3 separate regions of the Homo sapiens genome follow, and regions 1 and 2 are each linked to region 3. The links are contacts of gene promoters, found by promoter capture Hi-C in blood cells and fetal thymus (Javierre and others, 2016). All regions are on one chromosome and are shown on one strand. Each heading gives the region's core, a stretch centred on a gene start or on the middle of the fragment in contact. The rest is flanking DNA. Distances are from core to core; before and after follow the strand shown. Region 1 has its middle 63 kb from the start of TAS2R16. Region 2 overlaps SLC13A1 (solute carrier family 13 member 1). Region 3 holds the start of CADPS2 (calcium dependent secretion activator 2).

The links. The method cuts DNA at HindIII sites, captures the fragments that hold promoters and counts their contacts. A CHiCAGO score of 5 or more calls a contact.
Region 1: a fragment that was not itself captured here is called in contact with the fragment with the promoter of CADPS2 in region 3 in 1 of 17 cell types (endothelial precursors); the score reaches 5.1 in endothelial precursors.
Region 2: a contact is called between a fragment that was not itself captured here and the fragment with the promoter of CADPS2 in region 3, in 1 of 17 cell types (endothelial precursors). The highest score is 5.5, in endothelial precursors.

Annotation. Positions count from the first base shown.
Region 1 is chr7:123,057,200-123,059,899 of GRCh38, forward strand. No RefSeq gene overlaps it. Among named protein-coding and RNA genes, the nearest start is that of TAS2R16, 63 kb to the left of the region's middle. The HindIII fragment of the contact is 1,017 bases long and covers 922-1,938 here.
Region 2 is chr7:123,123,701-123,126,400 of GRCh38, forward strand. It overlaps SLC13A1 (solute carrier family 13 member 1), which reads right to left. Exons shown (of 15, transcript NM_022444.4): 11 at 1,869-1,975. Among named protein-coding and RNA genes, the nearest start is that of SLC13A1, 75 kb to the right of the region's middle. The HindIII fragment of the contact is 2,020 bases long and covers 252-2,271 here.
Region 3 is chr7:122,885,141-122,887,909 of GRCh38, forward strand. CADPS2 (calcium dependent secretion activator 2) reads right to left here and starts at 1,320. Exons shown (of 30, transcript NM_017954.11): 1 at 859-1,320. The coding sequence starts at 1,197. RefSeq lists an enhancer at 608-657 and silencers at 1,018-1,147, 1,188-1,237, 1,248-1,327, 1,398-1,557, 1,568-1,727. The HindIII fragment of the contact is 15,066 bases long and covers 1-2,769 here.

The DNA of each region.
Region 1 (2,700 bases), core at 180-2,679, 170 kb after region 3:
CTGTGAAAACGTTAGTGTCCTATGGTCCCAGTGGTCCTTTCTAGGGAAAACCTCAATGGCAAGAAATGTGGTGGAGCAGTGACGATGTCTTGCAGAGTTGGAATTGTTTGTGAATATAATGGAGATTCATAGGACTCCCAGAAACCATTGATGCAAATCTACAGGAGCTGAAGTTTTAGTTGACAGGTAGAACAGAAATGAAATGAGCTATTATCATTACTCTGTTCTCATCAAAATCATAGCATTGGTTGTTATAAATGTAGATAAGGCATATTAAAAACTTACATGAATGAATTCAGTAAAGAAATACAACCATGTGCATATATTCATGTCAACTAGCTATTTTTTCGGAATCAAAAAATATTATCTTGCTATTTTGGCATGTAGTCAGGATAAGCATACTGTTGTTTGATTAAGTGTTAAAGTTCACAATGAATAAATATCATCTTTGCAACTAAACTCCATGGTATTTTCTTACTAAGAATGTTTTTGTACTTACAAGAACAGATGTAGTGATAAAAGAATCCCAAGTTTTTCTAAGTCCTTCAATTAAAAAATTCTAAACCTAGAATATACATATGTGCATGTATTTATGTGTGTGTATGTGTGTGTATTCTTTTATCTATAAAATGGGAATAAGTAACATTTATAATATATGTTGAGTTCCTAAGTAAAATCATTTTCCAAATGTAAAATGAGTTGCTTTCAAAGCATTGGTGTATTTTTTATGTTTTTCTTATTTAATCATCAGAAATTCAATGTTTACTTGAATCATCAAAAAATTATTTCAGATGGCAACTGACATTTTCTCATATTAAAAAAAATAAATCCTTGAGTTGACAGACATCCAACAGTAGGAGGTAAGCCTTGAGCTGACAGTTGCTTCCTCATATGGACTTTTAATTACAGAGTCAGCATGCAAGCTTCAGAAGCCCCCAGGAGTCAGCAGCAAACATTGACTTGTGTGCAATACATTGCTAGAACTGTAATAGGAAAAAGTGTGGCAATTAAATGTGGGTTTTAGTGAGGGCATTCAGTGTATGTATCTGTTCTAGGACCATGAGTCTTAATCTCATGTAGAAAAAAGGCTATCATTTTATCTATTCAGCTTTATCAGAAAATGGGTTGTTTTCCATAATTAAAATTTTATAATAATTGAGGCCTAGAATTTATTCACTGGGATATTTAAGCCATTTAGATATCTAAGCCACATCTTTTAAATGTATATTGGTATTTCCCTACCTTTTACACAGAGTATTTCGACCAAAATATAAACTTCTCTTACTCTGCTAAGTTCCAGTGATAAAGTTGAATTTTTGAGGTTTTATTGTGATTACAGTGAAACTCTAGTTTTTCCAGCTCTGCATCTTACATCAGCCATTCTTTCCCAACACTAGCATTTAGCACAACAGTCATGCTGGTCTTTCTAAAAGGCTGTTTTATGAAATCTAGGTACAAAGATGACTGAGTTTATTAGGGTAAATCAATTATTTCCTCATTATTTTAAATCAGTGGGCTTTTATATGAGGCTCAAAAGAAGACTTCTGTCTTCATGGACTCAGCATTTTATTATTGCCATTTTTCTAATCAAATCCCAAAATATTCGCAGAGCACCTGTTATATGCCAGGAGTGAAGGATGTTGCCAAAGATGTGTCAATCGGATGAGAAAAATGCCGCTGAACTCAATACTTTGGGAAATAGGGAGTATGGGTTTTGCTATTTCTCCCCAGGCTTTCCACATCCATGGGCACAGTCAAGAACTCTTATTTTCAAAGATTTTCTATTGTTTTCTGCATCAGCAGAAGATTATATATAACCTCTCCACACTTGCAATTTTAGAATCATCGTGTTTTCTGAGGCGTGTCACCCTTTACAAGTCCTTACACCCTCCTGGGTAAAGTCTTGAGCTGATTGTCTAAAGTATCTATATGTAAGGAAGCTTGTCTGTGAGGTTCACATCTAAAGTCTTAGTTTTTCTGTCAAGTTTATCTCCTCCATATGCCTGCTAAAAAATAAAGTTCCTACAAAAACTTGGATAGATCACATTTAGGAAAATATATATGAATAGTAAATACATGAAAGCAGATAAGGAACTTTTGCACAATCAGCCTTAAATCTTTGATTGAATAAAGCAGTATCAACTAATATACAAACAGATACCCCTGATCCTACAGTTCCCCCTGACTCTTCCATTTTCCCTTTTAGGAAGACTCAGTGGTTCAAACCTTGGCTCCTTTTAGAAGCCCCACTCCAGCACAATTCAGTTAAAATTTCAAGGGTCCTCCTCTATTAATATTAAAAAAAATTAAGCCTTCCCAGGTGACTCTAATTTATGCCTGCGGTTGACACAACTGAGTTAGATTGATTTAAAAGGGACGATAAATAGACACTGTTTTGGCAAAAGCCCATTCCAAACAGCCATCTGATATCTTACTTAATCTAATCTGAGATAAGTTCATTTAAACAGAAAGTTGAAACTAATATAATTTCAAATAATCTTTGGAATATGTGTAAAACAAAGGCAACATATCAGGAATACATTTTTCCTCCAAATGGGCTAATGATAGACTACAGAATTTGAGACAGTGTTTCATATTTTGACATTTCAGTAATGGCTATTAATCATAGCCTTCTATTTTACTATCGAAAAATGCCATTTAAATACCATTTGTTAATTATAACATCTTTGGAAGTCTATT
Region 2 (2,700 bases), core at 12-2,511, 240 kb after region 3:
AAGGAGGATCATGATAGATTCACCAAGATTTCAGTTTAAAAATAATTCAAGATTCAGATTAAATAAAGTATTATTTATGAGGTTCTTAAAGTGCTTATAAAAGGATTATCATAAAGATTTCTCTTTATATTTGGCTTCTGATCTCTCCATTGCTTTGTTGATAAAGAAGTTCATTTGGAGACATATTCTGCCCATTTAACTTGTGTATAACAGGCAGCCTTCTACATGGTAAGATTTTAAGTTTACCAATAAGCTTCCTTCCTATCATCTTCCCCCAAATCCAAACCAAACCCATCCTCACTGATAACTGAAATTATGTCACCAGGTTTCTTACTTTAAGGTCATATATCTTGTTAAAATGTAAACATCTCTGACAAGTACTTCTTATTTAAAATTTAACATATTTATATATTATTTGTCATTTTTAAGCCTTGTATGAATGACTTTAGCAGGGAGAAGAGGTTTTGAAGAATGAGGGGAGAGAGAAAGGTGGGTAGGAGCAAGGCTCTTTCTAAGGGAGGGAATTCAGATGTGGAAACCAGGGAAGCTAAAGCCAAACATGGATTCCTCAGTACTTGCCACTGCCAGACCTCAGGGCTTTGACTGCAATGATCAGAGTCCTTGGGGTCCCATAGGAATCAATGCTCCATATTGCATCACCTCCTTAACACACATTGAGATATTCTAATCTCAAGTGAAAAACAAAGTACATTTGTTTCTATGCTGTGCTGGTCACATATGTCCTGGAAATCTGATACATTAGTCATTTATAGATTCTGACAAGAGTCAAGTGGGCCAACACAACTACATAAATCCCAGTTCCATCCCCATAAGAACAAACAAACAAAACCACAAGTCTACTAGTTAATTTCCAGACAATTACAAATTAGTTGTCCCACATTGACAAGATAGGAATCTGACTACTCAAAACATGCTGTGTTGTAAAGCAAAGATATGGATGAATCTTGTGTTTAAAAAGTGTGTGTGTCTGTGTGTGTGTGTGTGTGTTGAGAGGATGGTATGCTCAGGCAAATGTGCACACTTCTTTGTTCATGTGTTGTAAATACAATGAATGCTGTCACAGAATACCTTTTCTTTATTTTTATTACTATCATTATTTTTAGAGACCGAGTCTCCCTCTGTTGCCCAGGGCAGTGGCACAATCATAGCTCACTACAGCCTCCAACTCCTGGGCTCAAGTGATCCTCCTGCGTTGGCCTCCAGATTGGCCACCACACCTGGCTAATTTTTTTAATTTTTTGATAGAGCTGGGGTCTCACCATGCTGCCAAGGCTTGTTTCAAACTACTGGCCTCAAGTGATCCTCCTGCCTCAGTCTCCCAAAGTGCTGTGATTGCAGGTGTGAGCCACCACATCTGGCCCTTTTATTTCAGCTGTGATCCTAGGATATGGCTATGTGAGGTTTATTTAGCTTTTGTTCCAGAACTACTTTGAGAATGTAAATACTCTTTCTCTTGAAATTCATCACCTTTTTAGATCCTCTGCATTTATTACCAAGGTATCATAATGAAGCAGTGTCTTCCAAGTTCTTTTTCCTCTGTTTGCCAATAGTAAGATTAATTTTGAAGTGAGTTTACCATGGGTCAAATAGTATCGCTTGTAGCAGAGCCCTAGCCATGATACAAAAGGAAATCTACTTCTCACTTCTGCAAAGTAAGACGATCTCTCTTGAAGGTGGAAGCTGTGCTGGCTTGAAGACAGCATTGCAGTTTGCAAATAGGGCATGCTAGGCCAGGGATTGTGCCAGCATAGACTTTCTTTCTGCTCTAGGTGCCAAGCGAAACCAATGGAATTTTGTAATTTTTGCTCTTCTGTTAAATTTATGCAGAATTATAAATGATACTCAACCAATTTCTCCTGTAGGTGTAGTTTTAGTCAGTGTCTTAGCTGGGATAAGAAAGAATAGCAGCCCTATAAGTAAAGCAACAGTTGAATCTGTAGCAAAACCAGGGTACCTGTAAAAGGGACAAATACATGTATTAAAAATAGCATCAAGAACTTAAATGAGCTAAAACACCAATTTTGCTAATAACATATCAGTAATAGGTTATTATCAGTAGTAGGTGGTGTAGGTTATTTATCCTCAATAATCTGCCCTAAAATATATGGATTCCCGATTAAATGACACAACACTAAAAACAATAATCTCAGACCATAGTCTTATTGTTCCCATATATCTCTTCTTATTTTCAATACCACGTATACACATGCTGACATACTAGGCCAAAGTGGCAAATTTCCCTTTTAGATAAGCTTACAGATTTGTTAAACAATTTCTTCTTTGAATTATTTAATTTAATAATATTGATCAAGATTTGAAGTTGAAACATTGCTAGAGCATGGAAAGCCCCATATAATTGATTTATAACATCCTTCTATTAAATTGTGGCAAGGCGTGATATTTCTGTGTTCCTCTAAAGCTCTTCTATAAATTGTGAAAAGGAATTGATCTGTTTTCTGAGATATCACACCTGCTTCTGTGTTTATAAGCTCTAACCATATCATACAAAGGAAAGCAACCTACTTAATTTTTTGCACCCCATGAAATTCAATCAAGAATATTAATTGTTGGAGTGGTTTAGCCAATGCTCACAAATGATCACCATATAAATTAAGACTGATTCAGGAACAGATGGGGTCTTAGAATCACCAGACCATTGTAACAAATAAGACAGATTCC
Region 3 (2,769 bases), core at 70-2,569:
CTTAGGACAATTTGAGTCATTACTCGTGTCTGGTACAGAACATCAGGCCCCTGGGGTCTTGTTTTGAAACTCAAGTTGGCCAGCCTTTCACCTGAAACAAACTTCTTACCTTTTGGGGGAGAATAAGCATTTTGTTCCCCAAAAAAGCATTTGGAAAGCATTTGTTATGAAGTGATCATGCACCAATCCTTTATCTTTCATCAGTAATAGTATATTTCATTAATCAGGCCTGCCCAGACCAGAAATTACTTACCCACAAACACTTTACAAAGCTGCATGCCTTCTCGGTGTTTGGATTTGATGTCCTGGTTGTATGACAATATAGGAAACGTATTAATTTAACTTTTTTATTCACTGAGGAAAATTTCTACCCCTCTTAAGTGAAGACTTCACTCTAGCTAAGAGAAGTACTCGGGCTCCACCTGTTTCGCCTAGCTACAACACTCATTCAGACCCTCGGCAAACCCAGCTCTAGCAATATCACGCCAGGCTAGGTGGACAGGAATGCACCAGTGCTGTTGGAAATTAAAGTTGATGGGAGTTGCATTCTAATCCGGCCAGAGCTGCGCCTGCCGGGTGCAACCGCGGCGCGGCCGGCGCTGTCGGTCTCTGTCTCACGGATGGTGAGCTGACAGCTCCTGCCAGCCCAGGCGGGGAGGAGGAGAAGAGGTGTCCGCTGCAGCCGCATACCCGGCGGGTGAAAGCACCGTCTTGTCCCCAAAGATTCCTCTGCCCTCAGAGACTAACAAAAATACGGTGTCCTGCGTTTCGCAGAAGGACGGGAGGCGTCCCAGAGCTCTCCCGGGAGAAAAACCCAGGGAGAAGTGGTGGTAGGAGGCGCCCGGTCCCGCAACTCACCTTCTGCTGCCTCCGGGCCATGTCGGTGGGCTGCTTGGCGTTGAAGGGGTACGCGATGCACCTCACGACGAAGACGTAGAGCTGCAGGCGGATCCTCCGCTCCTGCTCATCGTCCAGCTGCCGCTGGGGCTCGTCTCGCCCCTCGCTGAGCACAGAGGGGCTCGGGCTCACAGATCTGGCCGCGCCGCCGCCGCCCGCGCGCCCCGGCGCGTCCCGCCGCCCTTCCCGAGTCGGGGCTGGAGGAGCTCGCTGCGAGCTGCCGGCTGCCACCAGCACATCGCGGCTTTCCTCTTCCAGCCCCTCGTCCGACTCCTCTTCGCTGGAAGACGGGTCCAGCATGGTGCTCGGGGATCCCCGCCGCTCGGCCCGCGGTCCCCAAGCGCCTCACCCCCGGCGGCTGCGCCCGCGGGTCTGAGGGAGCCGCGGGGCTGGCTGCAGCGGCCGCAGAACGAAAGGAAAACTGGCCAGGGCTTTCCGGACACGTCGAGTTAGATTCAGGAGTGTTTCCTACCACCAGGGCGAAAGGGGCGGGCAGGAGCCGGGAGGAGGATTGGGAGGGGGGAGAGGGGGAGCCGCCGGGACTGAATAGGCGGAGTTAGCGTTGGGGGTGAGCTTGGGCGCCTCAGGAATTGCTCCGCCAGCCCCGGGCGCGCCGACCCAGCGGTTCCCCAGAGCCCGCCGGCAGAGGCGGAGCCGCCCGAGCGCCCGGACGCAGGTGGGGAACCTGTGGCGCCTACAACAAGCAACACGTGGAATTGAATGTTGAAGAGCCGCGCGGGGCCGCGGAGTGCGCGTGCGCGCGCCGCCGCTGCTGCCCGGGCCCGCCTGGAGCCCTAGCACACAGTTTGCAAAGGCGGGGAGCGGCCGAGCGCGATGGCCCGTGTAAGCGTCCACCGGGGCTGCTCCGACTACCCTCACCCTACCACCTGTGATCTTTTCTCCAGCAGGTGGAGGTGGAATGGGGAGCGGGGAGGGACTGTTCCCTAGCAAGAGGTTAGGGGGAGCGGCCGAGACATCTCCCCAACCCGAATCGGCTGCCTAGGATTGAACCCCAGCGCGGAAAAGCGGGACTGGAGCCCTTCACCACGAAGTATCTTTGCGACAAGACTTTGAAAAGTCTCACTCTGCTCTGCTGCCGTTTTGATACTCATGCTGAAGCCCAAATTATAAAAGTCGGAGTAATGAAAAAAAAAAGAAAACCAACGAGGCTTACTTTTTAAACTGTTCTAGTCCTGCAGACTCAAGGCAAGAGAGATTTTATATGTGCAAAATGATACTGATTCAGCTCAAACATATCTCGATTATTTTCTGGGTTGGGATGCAGTTGACTCAAAACAGGTTGTGTAGTGTGGACATTTATTCAACAAAGATTTGAGCGCCCTCCCGGTGTCCAGCACTGTTAGCCTTTTGCGGAGCCCGCGGTGACTAAGGCACATGACACTCAGTCGCTGGTGGTTCTGGCCTCAAGTCGGCGTCTTGTAGCTGCGCTGAAGCCTGCCTTATCTGCGCAGATTTCTCAGTCCTAGTGCTGGAACCACCTAGGAGTTTCTTATAGTAATTCTGTATCTTATGTCCTAAGTCCTGACAGAGGGGGAAATAGGCAAAACAATGCATTCAACACCAGGTGGAGTGTGCAGCGACCAGGTGGGCAGGGAGGTGATGAAGTTCAGTGGAAATAACACAGGGCAAATTAACTACCAGCTCTGAGCTCCTCTACCACCATGGTCAAACAGCAGTTTTAGCTTTTTCAGGCCACTTTCATATAGTTAGGTACACAAGAGAGACTTCTGCACTTACTGACATTCTCTCTAGATGGGTAAAAGACAAGGAGGCATTTACTCCTGAGGAGTCTTACCTATTTTTCTGCCTAATCCATAACAGGCCCCCTAGTAATAAAAGGTCTTCAGTAAG